Linked DNA regions of Homo sapiens: region 2 is linked to region 1. The links are contacts of gene promoters, found by promoter capture Hi-C in blood cells and fetal thymus (Javierre and others, 2016). All regions are on one chromosome and are shown on one strand. Each heading gives the region's core, a stretch centred on a gene start or on the middle of the fragment in contact. The rest is flanking DNA. Distances are from core to core; before and after follow the strand shown.

Evidence for each region. The method cuts DNA at HindIII sites, captures the fragments that hold promoters and counts their contacts. A CHiCAGO score of 5 or more calls a contact.
Region 2: a contact is called between the fragment with the promoter of KRT5 here and the fragment with the promoter of KRT73 in region 1, in 1 of 17 cell types (neutrophils). The highest score is 6.2, in neutrophils.

Annotation. Positions count from the first base shown.
Region 1 is chr12:52,614,916-52,620,917 of GRCh38, reverse strand. KRT73 (keratin 73) reads left to right here and starts at 2,359. Exons shown (of 9, transcript NM_175068.3): 1 at 2,359-2,840; 2 at 4,538-4,752; 3 at 5,579-5,639. The coding sequence starts at 2,394. KRT73-AS1 (KRT73 antisense RNA 1) reads right to left here. Exons shown (of 3, transcript NR_126005.1): 3 at 5,613-6,002. The HindIII fragment of the contact is 4,368 bases long and covers 1-3,662 here.
Region 2 is chr12:52,519,144-52,524,868 of GRCh38, reverse strand. It overlaps KRT5 (keratin 5), which reads left to right and starts at 4,475. Exons shown (of 9, transcript NM_000424.4): 1 at 4,475-5,127; 2 at 5,709-5,725. The coding sequence starts at 4,573. RefSeq lists enhancers at 1,603-2,568, 5,388-5,725. The HindIII fragment of the contact is 4,587 bases long and covers 1,027-5,613 here.

The DNA.
Region 1 (6,002 bases), core at 1,110-3,609:
TTCTGGCCGTTAGGAAAGATTGACATACCTCCTGAACACAGGTAGAGACATCAAATTAGAAGAGACAATTGACATAATAGATGCTGTTGTTTGGACAACAAACAACATGTGGGAGGCTGGGAAGAGAGGTGTGATTGGATTAGGAAAGTGATCAGAGAAGGTTTCCGGAAGTGCCTCTGTGGCAGGTTCACAAGATGAGAAGGCCAGGGAGGGGAGGGGAAGTGAAAACCATAAGGAGAGGGGCTGTTTGCTCGTAAGCACATCCACGCCATACTGCAGAGTTGGCATTCACAGCATAAATGCCATTGGGGGTTATCTCAGGGCCTGTGACATGCAGCAATTTGTAGTTTTGCTGAGATGCAGGCCTGAATCACCTCCACCCCAGTGCTGGTGTGCTGAAATGAGCCAATTAGGGAGTGATTCTGGCTGGAATACTAAGCATTCTCATCACAATGCAGTTTTGTTGGTCTTCTTTGTGCCTTACAAAGAAACTTACAAAGGAATAGAAACTTTGGGTCAGGTGCGGTGGCTCACGCCTGTAATCCCAGCACTTCGAGAGACTGAGGCGGGCAGATCACCTGAGGTTGGGAGACCGAGACCAGCCTGACCAATATGGAGAAACCCCATTTCTACTAGAAATACAAAATTAGCCGGGCGTGGTGTTGCATCCCAGCTACTCAGGAGGCTGAGGCAGGAGAATCCCTTGAACCCAGGAAGTGGAGGTTGCGATGAGCCGAGATCATGCTATTGCACTCCAGCCTGGGCAAGAAGAGTGAAACGCCATCTCAAAAAAAAAAAAAAAAAAAAAGAAAAAAAGGAATAGAACTTCATGTTAGCTAAAAAAGATTAAAGGACTTCCAAGTGGCATTGCCTTTAGTGAAATTGAAGACATCAAAGAAAATGATTATTCTTAACTAGAAAACAACCATATTGTATAAAACAGAGGGGAGGTTGAATTTGGCAATTGCTTAGTACAACAATTTTAGAGGCATATCATAACCTCTATACAGAAATAGAAAAGAAGGATGGGCCAACTGTTCATTCAAGTACTCCAGCTAGTGAAATACTTGTGTTTTTATGGAGGAAATTCTATACTATGGATATATTTGGGATTTGGGATTTGGGAAACTCTTGGGTCACATACTTTGGCAATGTCAAGGATCCATGAAATTCAAATGTCTTCCCCTACCTCCCCATCTCCAAAATTGTGAGCTAGGTTTGGTCTTCATAATTCGGGACCCAAGAGCCTAGCACAGTACCTGGGAGAGAGTCAGCCCTCAAGAGAAGTCTGTTAAACGAATGGATAAATGAATGAACAAGTAGATGGCTGGCTGGCTGGTTGGACGGATAGATGGACGAATGAATAAGGCGGGCATAGCTCTGAATGTGGAGTCAGAAGACCAGCCAAGGGAGTCCTCAAGGCTGGGGCCTGTGCTTTTTGGGGGCATTTTCATTCTCTGGGATTCACACAAAGAAAGGACTCACTAAATGTTTGCTAAAGGAATGACATCCTCAATTATCTGAACCTTGGTTTCCCCATTTGTGTAATGTGGATCATCACCATTCCCCTCCATGCAGACTAAGTGGATTAAATGAGCTTCTTGTGTGAGGAGCTCTGTTACACTGTAAAGTGCTGCACCAGTGTCAGCCATCGTGAATGGTGCAATGACCATAATTTCAAGGTCAAGAGTCAGGGTAGTGGGATGGTAAAGGGAAAAAGAAGTCAGTGTGTGCAAAGGAAGGTGAGCAGGGCAGCCCGGCTGGCACAGAGGAGCAGGAGAGCTGCCTGGGAGGGCACAGCAGGGGGCTGGCAGCCAGAGGCTGGTCCTGGATTCCCAGTGTGCTCCTCTCCTATGGCCCTGGCCAGCCATCAAACCTGTCTCCAGGAACTCTGGGAAGCCAGGCAGCAGCAGCCTCTTCTTAACCACATAAAAGCAGCTCAGCCAGGGTCCCTGAAGCAGCCCATCTGATGCTGGCATGGTTGTGAGATTTCTAACAGATGACACTGTCAATTAAAGGTCTCCCCTCTGTACCCCTACAATCCCAGGCCCCACCACTCCCTGGGGAACAGCAATTGAGACTGCGACAAACCTCCCACCTAAGATCTTTCTATGGATAATGTGCCCATGCTAATTACACATGTTCATTAGATAAAACTCAAATTACATGAGCAAGACTTGCAAGACTAGCACTTTGGGAGTTTTCAAGTCATTTACCTGGTGTCTGATTTTGCTGGGAGAAAATGATTTCTTGCTTCCAGGCAAACTGAACCCACAAATTAGGCCCATGGCTCCCTCTTGAGTCCTATAAAGTGGGAGCCCAGGATCACAGGCTGGTGAACTGCATCTCAGCTAAGGGTCAGCATCTTATCCCCACTTTCTGGCCTCCCCACCATGAGCCGCCAATTCACCTACAAGTCGGGAGCTGCTGCCAAGGGGGGCTTCAGCGGCTGCTCCGCTGTGCTCTCAGGGGGCAGCTCATCCTCCTACCGAGCAGGGGGCAAAGGGCTCAGTGGAGGCTTCAGCAGTCGGAGCCTTTACAGCCTGGGGGGTGCCCGGAGCATCTCTTTCAATGTGGCCAGTGGCAGTGGGTGGGCAGGAGGCTATGGATTTGGCCGGGGCCGGGCCAGTGGCTTTGCTGGCAGCATGTTTGGCAGTGTGGCCTTGGGGTCCGTGTGTCCGTCGTTGTGCCCGCCCGGGGGTATCCATCAGGTCACCATCAACAAGAGCCTCCTGGCACCCCTGAACGTGGAGCTGGACCCTGAAATCCAGAAAGTGCGTGCCCAGGAGCGGGAGCAGATCAAGGTGCTGAACAACAAGTTCGCCTCCTTCATTGACAAGGTGGGTCTTTCTGGAGAAAGCTGATCTTGGGCTCCCCTTTTAAGGACTCAGGAGGGAGCCACTGCCCTAATTTGTGGTTCAATTTGCCTGAGAGCAAGAAATCATTTTCTCCCAGCAAAATCAGACACCAGGTAAACAACTTGAAAGCTCCCCAGGTGCTGGGCCCATAAGGCTTGCTCATGCCGTAGAGCCCCTTCCTTCCCCCGCCTTCATTGTCCTTGGGGTGCTCCCTGTCTGAAGCAGACGAAGGCAGGACACCTCCCCAGGATGCAGACATAGCCCAGGGAGGAACTGGACAAAGCCTGGACATCAGAGGCAAGGGACCAGGGTTGGAGGGGTGAGAGGAGCCAGCAGCCTAGCCCAGGAAGGTGTCCAGGAAGCAATGAGAGCGGTCTCTGAGTTGAGAAGTAGCAGAGTGACAGCCTGTGAGACTTAGAAGCTAGGCGAAGGAGATGCCCTTGACAGCCTGGGGCATCTAGACTGCCATGCGACCCAGCTGTTCCTCCTGTGTCCCCTGAAAGCTCAGACTCAGTCCGTAACACACACAGCCTATGAGGCAAGGCAGCTGGAGGTCACGGTGCCCTAGAGCAGTGGTTCTCAAAGGTGGCCCTGGAACCAGCAGCAGCAACGTCACCTGGACGCTTGTTAGAATGCACACTCTCAGGCTCCACCCCAGAGCAACTGAATCAGAGACTCTGCAGCAGGGCCCAGCACCCTGCATTTTAACAAGCTCTCCAGGTGATGCTGATGTACACTCAGGTTTGAGAATCACTGAGGAACAAAGTGGTAGGAAGGTATTGGGAAGCAGAGACTTCCTAAGCTTAGAGGAGCAGGGGAAGCTCACCCGGAGCGACAGTGAGGTAGGGTGGTGAGGCATGAGTAGGAGTTTTCAGATGGAGGTGGGGAAAAGGCAATCTAGGGAGACAGCACGTGCAGCATGGTAGAACTTGTCTGGGGAATGGGAGACCTTCGGTTTACGACATCACTGTATGAGTAAAGAAGGAAGCCAGGAGGGCTGGGCACATTATGAAGAGTGTGATAAGGAATATGGACTTGACCCTGAGGGTGATGTGGAACCACCTGAGGGTTTTAAGCAAGGGAATGATATATTTGTAGGTTGCAACTTGAGAATGCTTGTTCTGCTGCTGGGACAATGCTGTGATTGAGATAGTAGAGATTCAGACATGAAAGCAACTTAGGAGGGCCGGAGACCCCAGATAAGCTGAACATCTGCCTCTGGCTGGGCTGGGAGAGCCCACGCACAAGGAGGGAGAGACTAGGCAGAGCACGGGCCACCAGACCCCGAGCAGAAGGCCTGACAGTGTGAAGGCTAGCACAGGCCAGCTTGTGTCTAAGGGGCTGCCTTGGAGAGGTGGCCTGGACTGAACATGGACATCGGTCCAGGCAGGTTTGGATAAGTGCAGAGGAGACAGGAGATCTAGATCTTGATAGTTTGAGAGGGAAATGAAGACATTGGTGCCCCTCCCAACCTTAAGGGCTGCCTCAGAGTGAGAACTTCAGTCAGATAAAGGACCCTAGGTAAGGAGTGGGGGTGTGAGTGGCATGGGTGGCAGTTTTTAAGGGCTGAGGCTCATTTTTAAAGCTAATGTAGCATAAGAAAACACAGTTCCTGTCCAGGAAGGGAATTCTCACATCCCCTCTCCACATTGCTTAAGTATGTGTGGCATGGGTTCCAGGTGCGGTTCCTGGAGCAGCAGAACCAGGTGCTGGAGACCAAGTGGGAGCTGCTACAGCAGCTGGACCTGAACAACTGCAAGAATAACCTGGAGCCCATCCTTGAGGGCTACATCAGCAACCTGCGGAAGCAGCTGGAGACGCTGTCTGGGGACAGGGTGAGGCTGGACTCGGAGCTGAGGAGCGTGCGCGAAGTGGTGGAGGACTACAAGAAGAGGTGAGCAGGACGCCACTCCAGGCTGGTCTGCCTCCCAGGGTGAGGCTTTCCCAGCAGGCACTGGGATGTTTGCCTCTGGCCTTGGAGGTATTGGGTTCATCTGTCCCAGCAAGATGAGAGCCTTCTATGGGCAACGAGGCAGACTAGACAGTGGACAACCAGCCTCTTGGGCAGCGTCAGGGCTGTCCTGGCAGGTGATCCCCTCCTTGGCATGCTCCTTCCTGCTCCCTGTTCAAGGGAGCCTGTATTGTGTGTGCCGCAGCCTCTTGGCTCCTAAGCTCACCACTGTGCCCCTGAGTTCCAAAGAACCACCCCCCACCCACCCGCTGCTCTCTGCCACAGGGAAGGAGGTGGAGTTCCTGTTGGGCTTCCTCTCTCATTGCCTTTCGGTCCTGGACACGGGCCATGTGCCTTCTTTCTCCCCTGGGAGATAGTTCTGGCTTCCTTGGGACCCCTGCCTAGGGATGGAGGGGAGTTGTTGGTAGGTTGTCAGGCAGCAGGATTGACACAAGAATCATGGCTGAAAGGGGTAGCTGGCATGCTTCTGTGATTCAGATACTGAGTGGGAAGAGGAAGAACCTACTCACTCCCCAGGCATCAGAGGAAATCAGACCTCAAACCACCCAGGCTCAGGAGGAGGTTACTTCATACCCGGCCTCCAACTCTGGCCAAATAGTCCTGGTGTGTTGGGATGGACTTGCAAAGGTATAGAATAATACCTCTTAAAAGGCATATAATATGGGTATCTCTTTTCTCATTTCACTATGAGAACGTATACACACACACACAGACACACACTCTGCTTCCTGTGATGCTTTCCCTGCAGGTATGAAGAAGAAATAAACAAGCGCACAACTGCTGAGAATGAATTTGTGGTGCTTAAGAAGGTGAGGAGGGTGCATGGGTTCCCTTCAGTCCCCCAGCAGTGGGTGCTGGGCTAAGAGAGAGGAGCAGCTGAGGTCTGAGCCCCCCGCAGAAGGGCCTGGAGCCAAAGTGCTGAAGGAGGAGATGAAGGGCTTGCTGCTTGGGACATTTTGGGACACCTGGTGTTGGTTTAGCACACAGTACTTTGTCTGTGGACAGGAACCTAGATGTGGATAGTCAGTCCCAACTCATGTCCCCTCTGGCTGGGGAACAGGACAGGCTTTGGGAGGGGCTGCAGGTTTGCCTTCCAACTCTGCTAGTTTCTGGCAAATCGCCGTGGCTGTCCTTGCCTCCCTCTGTTGGCTGAATGACTGGCTGAGTGGGGT
Region 2 (5,725 bases), core at 3,226-5,725, 98 kb after region 1:
CATAGTTTCAATCAACCAAGGGGGATTTTCAAAGAGTTTGGTGTGCCATGAGCAAAACACCTTTCATACGAGGGAAGAACATTCCTCAGACTTGCAGGGGCCTGCTGGAGGGAAGCGGAGGGCTCTGCTCTGCACCCTCTCCTGCCAGGGCCAATCGGCTGCTGAATCTAAGGGATGGGGGCCAAGGCTGCTCCCCACAGCCCCCTGCAGGCCTGCCCCTCCCTTCCTGCTCAGCCCCAGCCAGCTCAAAATTAAAATTCCAGCTTGCATGGCCCCTCCAATGAGCCCAGGCCCCTCCCTTCTCTCCCAGCTGCACTGGACAAAACTATGCAGTGAGAGGTTAGGCAACTTGCTCAGGGTCCCAGACCCATCCAAGGACTGGGTCAGGACCAACACATGGTCTGGAGTGGTGCCACATGCTTTTGCACCTATGCTGTGACCCACAATGTGTGCGAAGCCCGTGCACAAGAAAAACTCAACTCCAGGGGGTAACTTGTCACTATGACCTCAATAATGGCAGCAGGGACTCACCTCCAAAGGCCCTCTGAGCCAAGGCTGAGCAGTTGCTTTATGTCTGGACATTTGCCTTTCTACCTAGTCCGGTTTTCAGACTGGGGTCTGAAAGCCCTAGAGACATTGGGCTGTAGGAGGGAGGGGGTGGTGTGTCCAGCTCTGCAGATCCAGAGTGGCCACTCCCCTCAGGGCCCTGTGATTCTGAGAATCTAGCTAGGACCAGAGCTGGGACCCAGGTTGGGATGGGGGCAAGATTCCGCTGGCTTTGGGTGGAGGCAGGAAAATTCTTCCCTCAATTCCCCCTGAGGCTAGGGCTTTGTGAAGAGCTATCTTGGGCTGGCCCGCTGTTCCATCTGCCCTTCCCCATCCTGCGAATCTGGCTGCAGGCTCCCTGATGGGGCTGCCAACCATAGCCCAATGAATAGGGTGACTCACACCTCAACTATTGCTCCCCACTTTTTGTGCTGAACAAGCGTGAGGTGGAAGGGCTGCAAAGTTGAGGCCACTAAAGCTTTCTTTCTCTCCTGGAGGGGCCTGGGGGCTGGGGTGGCACGTGCAGGCTACTTGTTAGTGGGCTCAGATGCAGAACACCCTCAGAATAAGGGTGAGGGAAGAAGAAGGATGGAGGGAAGCCTAAGGAATAAAGAATCCTAAATGCTAGATTAAATCCTAAATCCTAAACACAGAGCATACCCAGTGTGAAGGGGACAACAGACTCATCCTGTAGACACGGACTGAGAGACAAAATCAGATGGACAAGACTCTGAGACTCAGCATAGGGCTGGAGGATTCACAGAAATATATGTGAATATATATAATGTATATACATTCTGTTATACATAGGTTGGTGTAGATATAGGTTGGTGCAAAAGCAATTGAGGTTCTTGCCATTGTGGGCTTCACATAACAATCTGGGGAAGGAGCGGAGGAAGAGGATTTTCTGTCTGTCAATTCACTCCAAAAAATATCTGCAGAACACTTCCAGTGCCCAAGGCTGGGCTGAGGGTGTGGGCCATGCAGAGATGTTCCCTAACCTTGGAGACTGCCCTGCTGGGGGGGACTTAGAGGATATGTACAAATGCTGTTTTATGGAACATGTTCTATTTATCATGCTCTATTAAATGTATCTTCTACTAAAGCCCTACAGATTGGAGTGGAGGCTCTGAGGAGAAGGAATCCTGGGCTGGGATGGCAGGATTTGCCTAACCCTTGTTCCACGAATGGATACCACCCTCTCCCTGGTGTCTGTGAAGGGCTTCTCCATGTATGAAATGCTGACCAGGTCCTACATTCCCTGCACAGCTCTGCGAGAGAGGTCAGGGCAGCCAGCTTACTGTCCTTTCTCTGATGGGGAGAGCAGCAGGGCGGGCCCTGCACTGTCTTCTGCTGACAAGGAAAGCAGCACCCAGAGGAGAAGCTGAGCAACATGTCCCACCAAGCCTGGGAACTGCCTCTGTGGGGTGCCCAGCAGGAAAGCTCCCTGGTGAGCCTAACACAATCCCTCCCTTCCTGCCACAGTGAAATTCCAGGCTGGGGTGGGACTCTCCCGAGCTGCAGTGGTGCTGGTGCCTGGCTCCCCACCAGGAGCGGCTCCATTATTTATACCTGTCCAGGTCTGGCATTGAGGGAGGGGCTGCCCTGCCTGCTCATGGGAGGATTCCCACGAAGCTCGGATAGAAGAGTGCTGCTGCTTCTCCCATGGAGCACCCACATGCTCCCTGCTCCCATGGAGCACCACACACTCACCGTTGGTCCCTGGCACATGGATCTGAGCTTGGCACACTCTAGCAATCCTCAGACTAGCCAGAACGCATTCCTGCTCTGCCAAGTCCTCTTTCTTCACAACACAGCTGGGAGGAGAATGAATGGGGAGAAGAGAATGTCCCAGTGTCTCAGGAGGGGTGGGGCTTCCCTGAGGGCAGTGAGGTCTGTACCCGGGACCTGTGAGTGTATGTGGTGGTGGGGATATACCCCGATATCGATCTTTGAGTGGAGCAGGAGCATCCCACTACGAGTCCTCAGACACTTGCTTCAGGCTTGGATCTGTTCTGTTCTATCAGGAGCCGAGGGTCCCCTGGTATGTCTCAGGCCTCCAGGACACTCACATCTGTTCTCCAGAAAGCAACCAAATGTGAAAATGGTGAGCTCAGCACAATTCATCTCTGAGGGTCTCAGAAATGCTCCAGCCAGGGAGGCCACCCAAACCATTTTGCTCAAGACCTGTAAGACCGGCTCCGGCCATTGGTCTGTCTGCCGAGATTGACCTGTCAGCTGCTTGCTCATCGCAGCCCTCTGGTGAGAAGTCACTGTTTCAGCTGATCCTCAGCACCAGGGAGTCATTTTCCCACTGCCTTGGCTTCCTTGTGGCCAACCGCAGGCCCTGGTGAGAGATTCCTGAGCCTGGGTCTGGTCCTGTTCTTCTACTCTTGAGAATATAGCCCCTCCTCCCTGAGGCTTTGAAGCCATCCCCATTGCATTCCTACCTCCAGCCTCGGGCCACAGGGCGCCCCCGAAACTCTGAACAGCCCAAGCACTGTCCTGCCTGAGAGCCCTGCTTCTATTTGGGGGACGGCAGAGAGGTGGCCCCACTCAGATCTGCTGCCAAAAAGAGTGGGTGTGGTTTAGAACAGACGTGTGTTAAAACCTCATCAGAAACCCCCTTTCCTCCACCTGGTGCCACAACCCCCCAGACAAGTTTTGCAGAGGGGATCTCAAAGGGCCCTCCCTAAAGCAGCTGGCAGATTGTCATGCCAGCTGCCTGGGCCCACAGGCCTGCTCTGGCTAGCCTTTCTGGCAGGACAATCCATAGACTTAGAATCCCGTTTTCCATTGCCTTGGCCCTGAAGGAGGCTGTGGGCTACAGCATAGAGAAAGCAGAGCAAGTCCCGCTGCTTGGAACAGGGTGGTTCGCCGTTATAACAGGCCGTCAGACTCTCAACATGTTCCTGATGAGATTAGAAGCTCCTGCAGGTATGTGTTTGTGGCGGCCTTCAGCCTGTATCAACACATACGATGACTCATTTCTTCCCTAGTGGAATAGAGCTTGCTGGAACACACCTGGGGGGCTGGGGAACCGGCAGAGTAGCTACCCCCAAAGAGAGACGCTATAGCCCATGAGTCTCAGGGTTTTTTTTTAAGGGATTGCATGGGATCCCCGGGTTTCCTAAACCCCCCACAGAGTCCTGCCCAGGCCAAAGAGCAAGGAAAAGGTCAAAGGGCAGAAAAAATGCTGAGTTAGGAGGAGCTATGGAAGGATAAACCTGGCCTTAAAGAGGTCAAAGTGGTTTATAGGGGGCGCTGAGGGCTTCCCACATTCTCTGGCCTAAACCTTGCAGGCAGATCTGCCCAGTGGGCTCTGGGATAGCTGTGCCTTCCCTAAGAAAAAAATTGTGCAGAAAAGGATGAAACTCTATTTTCCCTCTAGCACATAACCAAGAATATAAGGCTACAGATTGCCTTTCCCAGAGGGGAAAACCCTGCAGCAACCTGCTGCCTGGAAAAGTGTAAGAGCAGATCACTGGGGAATCGTTTGCCCCCCGCTGATGGACAGCTTCCCCAAGCTGGAAGGGCAGGTGCTCAGCATGTACCGTACTGGGATGGTTGTCAATACTCCTGGTCCTGTAAGAGTCCCCAGGACACTGGCCATGCCAATGCCCCCTCAGTTCCTGGCATCCTTTTTGGGCTGCTCACAGCCCCCAGCCTCTATGGTGAAGACATACTTGCTAGCAGCGTCACCAACTTGCTGCCAAGAGATCAGTGCTGCAAGGCAAGGTTATTTCTAACTGAGCAGAGCCTGCCAGGAAGAAAGCGTTTGCACCCCACACCACTGTGCAGGTGTGACCGGTGAGCTCACAGCTGCCCCCCAGGCATGCCCAGCCCACTTAATCATTCACAGCTCGACAGCTCTCTCGCCCAGCCCAGTTCTGGAAGGGATAAAAAGGGGGCATCACCGTTCCTGGGTAACAGAGCCACCTTCTGCGTCCTGCTGAGCTCTGTTCTCTCCAGCACCTCCCAACCCACTAGTGCCTGGTTCTCTTGCTCCACCAGGAACAAGCCACCATGTCTCGCCAGTCAAGTGTGTCCTTCCGGAGCGGGGGCAGTCGTAGCTTCAGCACCGCCTCTGCCATCACCCCGTCTGTCTCCCGCACCAGCTTCACCTCCGTGTCCCGGTCCGGGGGTGGCGGTGGTGGTGGCTTCGGCAGGGTCAGCCTTGCGGGTGCTTGTGGAGTGGGTGGCTATGGCAGCCGGAGCCTCTACAACCTGGGGGGCTCCAAGAGGATATCCATCAGCACTAGTGGTGGCAGCTTCAGGAACCGGTTTGGTGCTGGTGCTGGAGGCGGCTATGGCTTTGGAGGTGGTGCCGGTAGTGGATTTGGTTTCGGCGGTGGAGCTGGTGGTGGCTTTGGGCTCGGTGGCGGAGCTGGCTTTGGAGGTGGCTTCGGTGGCCCTGGCTTTCCTGTCTGCCCTCCTGGAGGTATCCAAGAGGTCACTGTCAACCAGAGTCTCCTGACTCCCCTCAACCTGCAAATCGACCCCAGCATCCAGAGGGTGAGGACCGAGGAGCGCGAGCAGATCAAGACCCTCAACAATAAGTTTGCCTCCTTCATCGACAAGGTGAGCTACGATCTTTTGTAAAAAATCACTGTGGGTCTGAAATAAATGCCAAAGAGAGAGAAAGAAGGAAGATGTTTTGGCTTTGTGCAAATACTTTTATAGTTGTACAGTTCTGTGTTTCCGTTTGTTTCTGTGCCCTGGATTTGTGGACACGTTCTGAATTAGACTGGCAGCTGGGAAGGGAGAATTATTTCTTCCCATTCAGAGGTTAGCTCACAAGGGCCTCTTAACAACTGTTGGACAGAGAGATGAATTTCATGCCATATATAAAGGGGCTGACTGTACAGGAAGGTAGACAAGTGCATGGGCAGCAGCCTGAGTGCCTTTGCAGCCACCCCTGAGCCGGGACACACTCCAAGCAGCACTCCTAGTGCTTTCTGTGCCCTGGATAGGTGTCCTATCTCCCCCTGGAAAAGTGAGTTTGGGTGCCTCAGTCTGCACCTCCCCTCCTGGGGCCCAGGGCCAGGCACAGTGCACAGAAAAGCTTTAGAGGGACGGAAAGAGGTGGGAGGCACCTTAGTGAGTTGATCATAGAACATGAAATCCAAGTTTCTCTATCTTCAAACCCTGCTCCCCTCCAGGTGCGGTTCCTGGAGCA